Regions from separate parts of the Homo sapiens genome. Here regions 1, 2 and 3 are each linked to region 4. Evidence: promoter capture Hi-C in human tissues and cell types (Jung and others, 2019). All regions are on one chromosome and are shown on one strand. Each heading gives the region's core, a stretch centred on a gene start or on the middle of the fragment in contact. The rest is flanking DNA. Distances are from core to core; before and after follow the strand shown. Region 1 overlaps LOC105373456 (a long non-coding RNA gene). Region 2 overlaps LOC105373456 (a long non-coding RNA gene). Region 3 overlaps LOC105373456 (a long non-coding RNA gene). Region 4 holds the start of OSR1 (odd-skipped related transcription factor 1).

Region 1 (2,782 bases), core at 126-2,625, 670 kb after region 4:
CACCACTTCTATTCAACATAGTGTTGGAAGTTCTGGCCAGGGCAATCAGGCAGGAGAAGGAAATAAAGGGTATTCAATTAGGAAAAGAGGAAGTCAAATTGTCCCTGTTTGCAGACGACATGATTGTATACCTAGAAAACCCCATCCTCTCAGCCCAAAATCTCCTTAAGCTGATAAGCAACTTCAGCAAAGTCTCAGGATACAAAATCAATGTGCAAAAATCACAAGCATTCTTATACACCAATAACAGACAAACAGCCAAATCATGAGTGAACTCCCATTCACAATTGCTTCAAAGAGAATAAAATACCTAGGAATCCAACTTACAAGGGATGTGAAGGACCTCTTCAAGGAGAACTACAAACCACTGCTCAATGAAATAAAAGAGGATACAAACAAATGGAAGAACATTCCATGCTCATGGGTAGGAAGAATCAATATCGTGAAAATGGCCATACTGCCCAAGGTAATTTATAGATTCAATGCCATCCCCATCAAGCTACCAATGAATTTCTTCACAGAATTGGAAAAAACTACTTTAAAGTTCATAGGGAATCAAAAAAGAGCCCGCATTTCCAAGTCAATACTAAGCCAAAAGAACAAAGCTGGCGGCATCATGCTACCTGACTTCAAACTATACTACAAGGCTACAGTAACCAAAACAGCATGGTACTGGTACCAAAACAGAGATATAGACCAATGGAACAGAACAGAGCCCTCAGAAATAATGCCACATATCTACAACTATCTGATCTTTGACAAACCTGACAAAAACAAGAAATGGGGAAAGGATTCCCTATTTAATAAATGGTGCTGGGAAAACTGGCTAGCCATATGTAGAAAGAAGAAACTGGATACCTTCCTTACACCTTATACAAAAATTAATTCAAGATGGATTAAAGACTTAAATGTTAGACCTAAAACCATAAAAACTCTAGAAGAAAACCTTGGCAATACCATTCAGGACATAGGCATGGGCAAGGACTTCATGTCTAAAACACCAAAAGCAATGGTAACAAAAGCCAAAATTGACAAATGGGATCTAATTAAACTAAAGAGATTCTGCACAGCAAAAGAAACCACCATCAGAGTGAACAGGCAACCTACAGAATGGGAGAACATTTTTGCAATCTACTCATCTGACAAAGGGCTAATATCCAGAATCTACAAGGAACTCAAACAAATTTACAAGAAAAAAACAACCCCATCAACAAGTGGGCAAAGGATATGAACAGACACTTCTCAAAAGAAGACATTTATGCAGCCAAAAGACACATGAAAAAATGCTCATCATCACTGGCCATCAGAGAAATGCAAATCAAAACCACCATGAGATACCATCTCACACCAGTTAGAATGGTGATCATTAAAAAGTTAGGGAACAACAGGTGCTGGAGAGGATGTAGAGAAATAGGAACACTTTTACACTGTTGGTGGGACTGTAAACTAGTTCAACCATTGTGGAAGTCAGTGTGGCAATTCCTCAGGGATCTAGAACTAGAAATACCATTTGATCCAGCCATCCCATTACTGTGTATATACCCAAAGGATTATAAATCATGCTGTTATAAAGACACATGCACATGTATGTTTATTGAGGCACTATTCACAATAGCAAAGACTTGGAACCAACCCAAATGGCCAACAATGATAGACTGGATTAAGAAAATGTGGCACATATACACCATGGAATACTATGCAGCCATGAAAAAGGATGATTTCATGTCCTTTGTAGGGACATGGATGAAGCTAGAAACCACCATTCTCAGCAAACTATCGCAAGGACAAAAAACCAAACACCACATGTTCTCACTCATAGGTGGGATTGAACAATGAGAACACATGGACACAGGAAGGGGAACATCACACACTGGGTCCTGTTGTGGGGTGGGGGGAGGGGGGAGGGATAGCATTAGGAGATATACCTAATGCTAAATAACGAGTTAATGGGTGCAGCACACCAACATGGCACATGTATACATATGTAACAAACCTGCACAGTGTGCACATGTACCCTAAAACTTAAAGTACAATAATGAAAAAAAAAGATGGATGGATGGATGGATGGATAGACAGACAGATACCATTTTCTTTATCCATTTATCTATTGATGAACACTTACGTTGTTTCCTTATCTTGGCTATTGTGAATAAAGCTGTGATGCACATCAGAGTGTAGAAATGTCTACAAGGTGTTGATTCCATTAATTTGGGGCATATAATCAGAAAAGGAACCACTGGGTCACAAGAGTTTTAATTTTGACTCTCACCAACACTTGCTATCTCTTGTCTTTTTGATAATAGCCATGCTAACAGATGTGAAACTATATCTCATTGTGGTTTTTATATTTATCTGATGATTACTGATGGTGAGCACCTTTTCATATACCTGTTGGATATTTTTATGTGTTCAGAAAAATGTCCAGATTTTTGCTCATTTTTTAAACTTTTTTTTTGCTATTGTGTGACTTCCTTATATATTTTGGGAGTTAATCTCTTATCAGATGTATAGTTTGCAAATATTGTCTCCCAAACCATAAGCTGTCTTTTTCTTTTGCTATTTGGAGAACCTTTTTAGTTTGATATAGTCCCACTTATTTATTTTTGTTTTTATTCACTGAGCTTTTGTTGTGAAATCCAAAAACTAATTGCCAAGGGCAATGTCAAGAAGCTTTTCCTCTGTATATTTTCTTCCAGGAATTTTTACAGTTTTAGATCTTATACTGAGGTTTTTAATACATTTTGATTTGATTTTTGTGTAGGATACCATTTAAGGATCCAGT
Region 2 (2,803 bases), core at 266-2,765, 640 kb after region 4:
ATGCTTTCTCCTGATATCCAAGACCTTTCCAAATGCTCTTCCATGGAATTCATGCTCCAGTAATAACACACGACATGTAGTTCCTCCAACAGAGCAAACTCTCTCAGACCTCTGATCTCTTTCATTTGTGGCCAGAACACTGATGCCCCATTCTCTTTACTGTTTTGAAATTCAGTTCATGCGCTATTACTGTTAGGGACATTCTCTGCTCCCTCTTCAGTGCTCATGCATCACTTGTACCATTGCACAATTCCTGAGCATCCTCATCACCATTGCTACTAAGTTCTTCAAGGGCAGGAACTGTGCTTCTTTGATCTTGTTATTCCCAATGTTTGGCATAGGACCTAGAACTGTGGAGTCATATGGTAAATTTCTAGTCAAATAAACTGAATTAATATGTGTCCGCAGTACCTTGTATGGTCAGGAGACAGAAAAGGCTGTTTCGTTTGATGCTAAACAAATAATCTCAAGTGCAAAGTTTCATTATTTGCAAAGTAGTTTCCTAGCATCTAAGACAGTTTCCATTTATTTCATGTTAAACCAAAGGATCTCAACAATTTTATTAACTGGAGTTTCTGTAGCTACACTGTGAATTTACTGAAGATGGGAAACACATTTTATTAACTCATCAAATCACAGATTTTAAATAATGTTCATTGACTGAATGAATGAATAAATTTACTATATTCATTTCCACATCACCTCACAGAACCTAGCATGATGCTGAGCACATAATGGATGCTCAACAAATGACATCCAAATGAATGAGTAAACAAATGAATGTCTTTCTAATTTTTTTTTAACTGTAGTGACTAATAAAAAATGTGGCACATTGCTGCTTAAAGGCCCTTGTTTGAGGCATAGGAAAACTGAGATTCGAGAACTATCAAGTGAAAATCTGGCTACTTTTTCAGGGTTAAGACCCTTTTACAATACAAAGTGAAATATAAAAATATCTGCCAAATGTTTACATTTGTAAGTTTAAAGATGCTAGAAAAACATCATCAAAAGTAGCATCCAGGGTTGCTTAATCTCAAGATTGTCATGGTTATATACGGAGTGACATATTATTTGGCTATGATCTTGGTAGAGTTCCTAAGCTGATACATTTAATGAAGAGCATATTCAGATGTAGAATAGTTTTTATATAAATGACAGAAATAGTGCACTATGTTCAATGTCTACCCATTATGCCAAAACTCCTAAAAGCATTCCTTCCAACCAATCTCACTCTCCCCAAGAGCATAATTGGAGCCCATTAGAGTTCAGGACACAGAATTTTCTCTGTGATGTTTCACATATAAAAAGATTAGGCCATGAGAACCAAGTACAGTTAGATGAGTTCATCTTACCATGGCATTTTCCTGACCAAACAGTCAAACTAGCTCTCTCTTCCAGGAAACTCGTGATTAGATTTTGTTTAGGGAAAGTAGACTCTTTCGGGCTGAGCCTACTTGGCTGAACGGTACCTCACTCTCCCACTGGGGATAATGAACTAAAATGAAGAGTAAATTGGGTCTTCGAGGAACCTAGGTTCAAAGGTGAAGCCAAGGCAGGGCTTTGTGCATGGATACAGTTAGTCTCAGAAATGTTGAACCTCATAACTTCTCAAAACTATCCGCGTCCCAAAACCAAAGGCGCGTGACCCAGCTTCTCAGAGTTCTTGTTTAGCAGAAAAAATAAACACAGATAAAAATTCATCACCCCATAAACTTATACAAAACTCCAATAAAAACTACTTGAAGTAGACAAAATATAAAAAATGAGGAAAGCACTCTCTATTCATAATAATTTGATCCTCATTCTGATTTATTCCAATCTTAAACATAATTTATAAAAGACATACGCAGACCTCACCAGCAATGAAAAACAAATTAATGATATAGCTTATTACCCTTATAAATGTTAGTAATTTAAAAAGAAGAGTAGGCAATGTGGTCAAATGCATAGAAATGGGCCATCTCTCATATTGCTAGTACATGCAGTAAAGACGCACAAATAGGACAAAAGTGAATAACAGATAATAGAAGGGGAAGGAAGAAATGACCCTAGATTCATCATCAGAAAAAAATAATAATCTAACCAATAGGCACTCAATAATGGATACAAATTAATTAATATCCCTCCCATTTTCCCCTTTCTGTTCTTGTCTCCTCTTCCCCTCCCTCCTAGGTCTTATCCATCATCATCACCATCATCATCATCATCATCAAAAAAGAGCAGAGCAAATCCTCTGGGTCTCTTCACAGGGAAACCACCATTCACGAGAAATACAAATATGGTTTCTGTGGGATAAAGACACTGTTGGAAATTGTGTGGCACTTCATTGCCATGCTGTGTGCTGACATTAAATGTTTACTCATGTTTTTCTTAACATTTAAAAAAATTTAACCTTCTATCTCACAGATAATTTTAATCTCCTCCCCACCCCATTTCACTCACATTCTCAAACAATAAACCTTATCATCTTTTAATTCCATTCCAATTTATTGAAGCTTAATTTTACTAGAAAGATAATTTTACAGAGGTGAGATGCAGATTGTTTAAAAGAGTAGTATTGATGACTGTTTTTAAATCTGATATTTTAGAAATGCCCCTTAAATTGCCTTACTAGGTAACTCATCCTAATTATCTTCAGGAAGAGAGTGAGATGGAGGAGTAAGGGAGGCGAGAGGGAAATAGAACTGTTGTGTAATATGTATAAGTACCTGGTGCAGGCTAAGAATTCTACATATATGACCTTGGTTAGTTCCCATGTCAAGCGGAGGAGATTAGGGAGGCTCAGGAAGATTAGGTGGCCAGC
Region 3 (2,700 bases), core at 52-2,551, 750 kb after region 4:
GACCCTGCCCCATTACCTCATACAAAATGATGGAGCACAATCCAGGACTGTCCAACTCCAAATCATGCTGTTTCCACTACACTAACTTCCTTCCAGAGTCTACAAAATCTCATATTTCATTCAGGAATCTCTGAATGTATTTAAAGAATATTTGCTTAGTAGCTACATATTTAGCTGCATTACATAAAAAGATGAGAATGCACAGTCTCTACTTCTAAGTAGCTTAGAGGTTAATTCAGGGAAAAACATAATAGTGAGTAGAGGAACAGAAAAGGAGGACTATGTATTAGTTAGGATTCTCCAAAGAAATAGAGCCAATAGGACATTTACAGACATACAGAAAGAGATTTATATGAGGAATTGGCTTATGTGATTGTGGAGGCTGAGAAGTCCCTCAATCCGTGGCATAGTTCCAGTCCAAACTCAAATGCCTGAGAACCAGGGAAGCCAATGGTATAAATCCCAGTCCAAGTCTGAAGACCCAAGACCAGGGCTTGAAGACTGAAGTCAAAGACCTTTGGGAGCTGCTAACTGCTAACACACAATTTGAACAATTTGAACAATTCAGCATTTAACTGATTAGCAGGTGACTAAGCATGACTTTATGGAAAGGGGATGTCCAAAGGCAAGAGAAGATGGGTGTTCTAGCTTAAGCAGAGACAACCATTTCACCCTTCCTCCCCCTTTTTGGTCTATTCAGACCCTCAAGAAAAGACCCCCAGTATACATCTTGGTGAGGGTGGATCTTCTTTACTCAGTCTAACCAGTTCAAAAGCTAATCTCTTCCAGAAACACTCTCACAGACACACCCTGAAATAATATTTTACCATCTATCTGGGCATTATTTAGCCCAGTCAAGTTGATACATAAATTAACTATTACAAAGGGGAAATATAACAAACAAAAATATGACTACGATAAAATGTAGTAAGTGGTTTTAGAGAGGTTCCAAGGAAATGCTTGGCCAGGAGAGTGGAAACAAAGTCTGATGTGTGAAGCAGGCGGTAGGATCTTAGCATTATTTGAATGAGACTAGAGGATCAGGAATGGCTTCTTTGAGAAAATGAAAGTGGTGGGTGTTTGACCTGGTTCTTACAGGCAACCACTCCTCTACCACTGATAGATGGCAGAACAGCACAATTAAAGAAAGCTCCCTCTCTTCCCTTCCCACCAGCACCTTCTAGGAATGTGGCTTCTGTCAGCATGGTCCATGTCCTCCGAATGACTGGCCTAGGAAGGCTCTCCAAGCAGGCATCAGAAACACACATGGAACCCTTTGGGTGGAAAATTCTGGGGCCTTAGGTACATTAAGTATGGTATAAAGTGCGGAAAATAGTAGCATATGTGCTTAGGAAGTACATATGCCTTTTGGTTTTAATGAGTTTGTGTCTTGTATGGAGAAGCATGGCTAAGAAATAGAGTGAGTTCTCTAAAGTATGGAAACTGGATTGTACAGAAAATAGTATCTTTTAGTGTCACAGTGTGGACCTCTTAGTGTCACAGACAGGATTTAACAGGAAGTTCTGGGATAAGGAGGAGGAGGCAAGGATAAAGGACAACATTCTTGACAGAGGGAACTAAATAAGTAAAATGTTGAGAGAGGGGTAGTAAAGGGAATGGTCAGAGATTGAGTAATTCAGAAGCTTGCTTATTGGAAGCAGAAAGTATACATAGTACTTGCTTCCTGGAGAGCTTTTCTTCTTATGCTCCTCTTCTAGTCTTTGCTTCCTGAAAACCTACTTGTTACGGGTTGAATTGTGTCCCTCCCAAAATGCATATAGTGAAGTTCTAACCCCCACTACCTCACAATGTGACCTCATTTGGAACTAGGGTAATTGCAGATGTTATTAGTTAAGATAAGGTCGTACTGAAGTAAGGTAAGCCTCTAGTTCAATATGACTGTTATCCTTATTAAAAGGGGAATTTAGACACAGAGACATGCACACAGAGAGAACGCCATATGAAGATAAAAGCAGAGGTTGAGATAATGCTTCTACAAGCCAAGAAATGTCGAAGGCTGCCAGCAAACCACCAAAGGCTAGGCAAGAGCATAGAACAGATTATCCCTCCCAGCCCCCAAAGGAGCTAACCCTTCTGATGCCTTTATGTCAGGTTTCCAGCCTCCAGAACAATGAGAAAATAAATTTCTGGTTTTATTAGATACTCAATTTGTGGTACTTTGTTATGACAGCCCTGGCAAACTAATATATCTTATCTCCCACTCATTCATCCAAATGGCAAATTCTCTAGGAAGCCTTTCTCTTGCCACCCTTTATAAACCTCATTCTTGCCTTCTCACTTTTGGACTCTCAGAGCACAGTGCTTTGCTTTCTTCCTACTCCTCTTATGATGGACACAGCACCCACTGTGTCACAGTTATGTGGGCACTTGTCTTCTCTTCCTGGTAGACCGTAAGTTCCTGGGGGCAATCAGTGATTGAGTCAGTTTCATCAACTTATCCCTGAAACTTGACACAGCACCTGGCACCTGGTATGTACTCAACACAAGTTTGTTGAATAGAAATGACCTAAAGGAAAAACACAGGGCAAAGCCTGTGACAATATGCTCTTGGTCAATGCTATGTAAACATCACTTTTTTTTTTTCAAATGAAGAGCTATCTTGAGGCTCAATTTTTGGCACCTGCTCTGTGACAGGCACTGTGATTGCCCCCACTGATGTAGAGATGAATTGGAACAGCC
Region 4 (2,772 bases), core at 236-2,735:
CTAACCTGAGGCACTGGGTAAAAGCTGTTCGTTGGAGCAAAGATTGCACCCCCTCTTACTCCTCCTCAAACAAGACGAAGTTACCCAGGGGTTAGAGGCTAGATTCTGTTCTAAAGGCCTGGGGATATAAGGAAATCCTCTTTCAACTATGCCTTTGAGGGAGGGGAGTCTTCATTACCATCTCCCTAGGTCAGGTATTACAACCTTCTTCACCTCCCAAGAAAATCAGATTAGCTTTGCAAACCAAAGCTGGAGATAGCAGAAGCTCCTCGGGAGAGAAGCAGTACAGTACTTAGGGACCCACGGAATCTAGGATCCAGCTCCAAGAGTCACTCAGCAGCAACTCTGGGGCAAAGGCAGAGAGTGCAGTTGTGTGATCTGGACCCACACAAGTCCCAGGAAACCAGTGACTCCTCCTTGCCAAACCCAAGGCCTGGAAGGGTATTCCAGAAAGGCATTAGGGAGGGATTGGGCTGGGGTCAGCCGGAGGTCAGCTTTCAGAGATGGGTAGTCAAGGGGGTGATGGTACCCTCCATAATGCCTAGGCAATGAAGATAGAATTTTTAATGTCCAGAACTCTGATTCCTTTCCGATTAAAAACTCCACCTGAACCAGCTCCTTGACTCAGAGGCCCTGGAACTGACAACTTTGCAGCTCGTCTAGCTTGCCAGTGCGGCTCTCTAAACTCTGATCCATCCTAAAACAAATATGTAAGTAGAGAGTGCCACTGTGCATTGGGGTGAAATCTCAGAGAGTTCTGGGCCCCAGGAAAATAACTTTCCTGACCTCCTTTCCCTACTCTTTGTTCTTTCTACTGGACTCCAGAACTTAGGGTCTGGGGTCAACCATAAGCACTCAGATGTTACAGCTCGCTTGCTTCGGTGACCCTGGCCCTCCCGCACCAGGAATTAACCAGCGCTGCCTGGGTTAACACCCTGGCCCCGAGCACGCTTGGATAGCCAGGAGCTGCTCCACACTCGGGGTCTGCCGCCTCTGGAAAGAGATTCTGGGAGGAGATGCGACTCTGTCAGGCGCCAAAGTGCGTTGAAACCCAAGCCGCGGTGTGGGGATCCCGGTGCACAGAGCTACTGCCCCTCCCTCCCTCCTCCCAAAGAGCACGGGCTGTGTCCTAGGAGCCCAAGTATAGGACCTCGAAACGTGCGGTGCCAGCCCGCTCTCATCTGCTAGGGACCGTTTCCTCCAGTGCGCCAGGCGTGCCGCTCTGGACCTAAAAAGGCAGCAGGGGTCGCGCGGGACTGAAGAGGAGGGGACGCAGGTTGGGAGAGGCCGGGTCCAAGCGAGAGCAGCTGCCAAAGTCTGCTGCCCGGGTCAGCAAAAACTTTGTCTTTCATTGCGCAGGCGCAGGGCAGGGTTGGGGGGCAGGGGAGGGAGGGGAGGAATCCTGAGGCAAGGGGCGGGGGTGGGGGTGGTGGAGGAGGGAGGGTGGTGGATTAAAATAAGTAGGCGGCTCGGTGCTAAGGGATGAGTGAGTCGGAGCTCGGCCTCTCCCCGGCACGTTCTCAGCTGCTCCTGGTTCAGACCCAGCGAGGGAGCCGCGAGCGAGGCTCACCGTCCCCGGCGTGCAGGATCCGGGGCTGCTGAGCGCTCGCTCCCGCGTGTCCGGCGCTTGGAGTCCCCGCGGCAGGAGAGGAGTCGGGACACTAGAGCTCCAGGGGCGCCTGTGGGCTCCAGGGCCTCCGGCTTCCCCAGTCCCCTTCAGCTAAAGCCCCAGAGACGTGCTCAGCCCCAGGACCTCTGCGGAACAAGGTAATTGCAGTCCTGGGCGCCTGGGCTCAGCAAAGCGAATGCGGGCAGGACTCCCAGGTTCCTTGTCACTGCTCGGCGGGTGCCTCCTCTCTCTCAATGCCCCTGAAGGAAGCTCTTGCCAAACGAATGCTGTAGGACTTTTGTGAAAGTGAGAGCAGGGTGGTTGGGGGTGCTGCCTCAGGACTTCCTGCGCGGGGTCCTCGGCCTCTGACCGCTGGGGATTAAGGGGGGCGGGCCTCCGCTACTGCGGCCAGCCCGCCCGGCTCTGCGGAATCACGGGCGAGGTGCCCACGGACTTTGAAAGTCAATCTGTGGGCCCCCTTTAAGAAACCAGAGCAACTTCAGCGGGCACAAACTTTCCTGAGACGCGCTCCTAGCTCTGGCTGACGCCCAGGTTGACGAAGAAGGAAGGGAGAGGGAGTGAATGGCCACAGCCGCAGCCGACCGCGCCAGGGACAGGTGCATGCCCCAGCTCGGTAGCGCTTTCGTTCAAGTTTGTCTTTTGAGGAGTTGCGCTCTAGTATGAGGCCGCCTAGACCCGAGAGCGCAGGGCTGCGAGTCTGAACCCCGCCTTGCACTCGCGCTCTAACTTAGGGATATTCTCCATAGGATGATTGCTCTGTGTCGTCAAGGCCTGGAGCGGAACCCTTGATTGTCCTGGTGCAGGGAGGCAATGCAGTGGGCGCAAGCACTGCTTTCCAATTCGAGACCCACACACAGCACTAGTGGAAACTCTGTGGAGCCCTAGGGTCTCCGGGCTGGGGACAGGAAAAGTTCTGTTACTCCCCTGACTGTCCGCTAATCCAGCCGTCAGGAGAGAAAGAAGGGGGAAAGGGGTGAAGGGCTGCCTGCTGAACTAATTTCTCCTCGGAAATGTCTCGGAGAAGAATGAAAAACCACGTTTAGTCCTTTTTCAGCAGCTCAGGCAGTAGCGGGTTGGGTTCTCAATGTGTAAAGTAGCCGCAAGGGTTTCTTTGTTGCCACAATTTGGTAAATTTCACCCAG

What was found. Contacts are between HindIII fragments. The study calls those that stand out against the background at their distance.
Region 1: a fragment that was not itself captured here is called in contact with the fragment with the promoter of OSR1 in region 4 in 2 of the 25 tissues and cell types used here (H1 embryonic stem cells and mesendoderm cells).
Region 2: a fragment that was not itself captured here is called in contact with the fragment with the promoter of OSR1 in region 4 in 2 of the 25 tissues and cell types used here (IMR-90 fibroblasts and mesendoderm cells).
Region 3: a contact is called between a fragment that was not itself captured here and the fragment with the promoter of OSR1 in region 4, in 1 of the 25 tissues and cell types used here (bladder).

The regions. Positions count from the first base shown.
Region 1 is chr2:18,691,464-18,694,245 of GRCh38, reverse strand. All of the region lies in intron 4 of LOC105373456 (a long non-coding RNA gene), which reads right to left. Among named protein-coding and RNA genes, the nearest start is that of NT5C1B-RDH14, 100 kb to the right of the region's middle. The HindIII fragment of the contact is 5,274 bases long and covers 1-2,782 here.
Region 2 is chr2:18,717,346-18,720,148 of GRCh38, reverse strand. All of the region lies in intron 4 of LOC105373456 (a long non-coding RNA gene), which reads right to left. Among named protein-coding and RNA genes, the nearest start is that of NT5C1B-RDH14, 130 kb to the right of the region's middle. The HindIII fragment of the contact is 6,305 bases long and covers 1-2,803 here.
Region 3 is chr2:18,611,647-18,614,346 of GRCh38, reverse strand. The region is part of intron 2 of LOC105373456 (a long non-coding RNA gene); the gene reads right to left. Among named protein-coding and RNA genes, the nearest start is that of NT5C1B-RDH14, 23 kb to the right of the region's middle. The HindIII fragment of the contact is 5,502 bases long and covers 1-2,700 here.
Region 4 is chr2:19,357,336-19,360,107 of GRCh38, reverse strand. OSR1 (odd-skipped related transcription factor 1) reads left to right here and starts at 1,485. Exons shown (of 3, transcript NM_145260.3): 1 at 1,485-1,767. RefSeq lists an enhancer at 1,613-2,141. The HindIII fragment of the contact is 12,145 bases long and covers 1-2,772 here.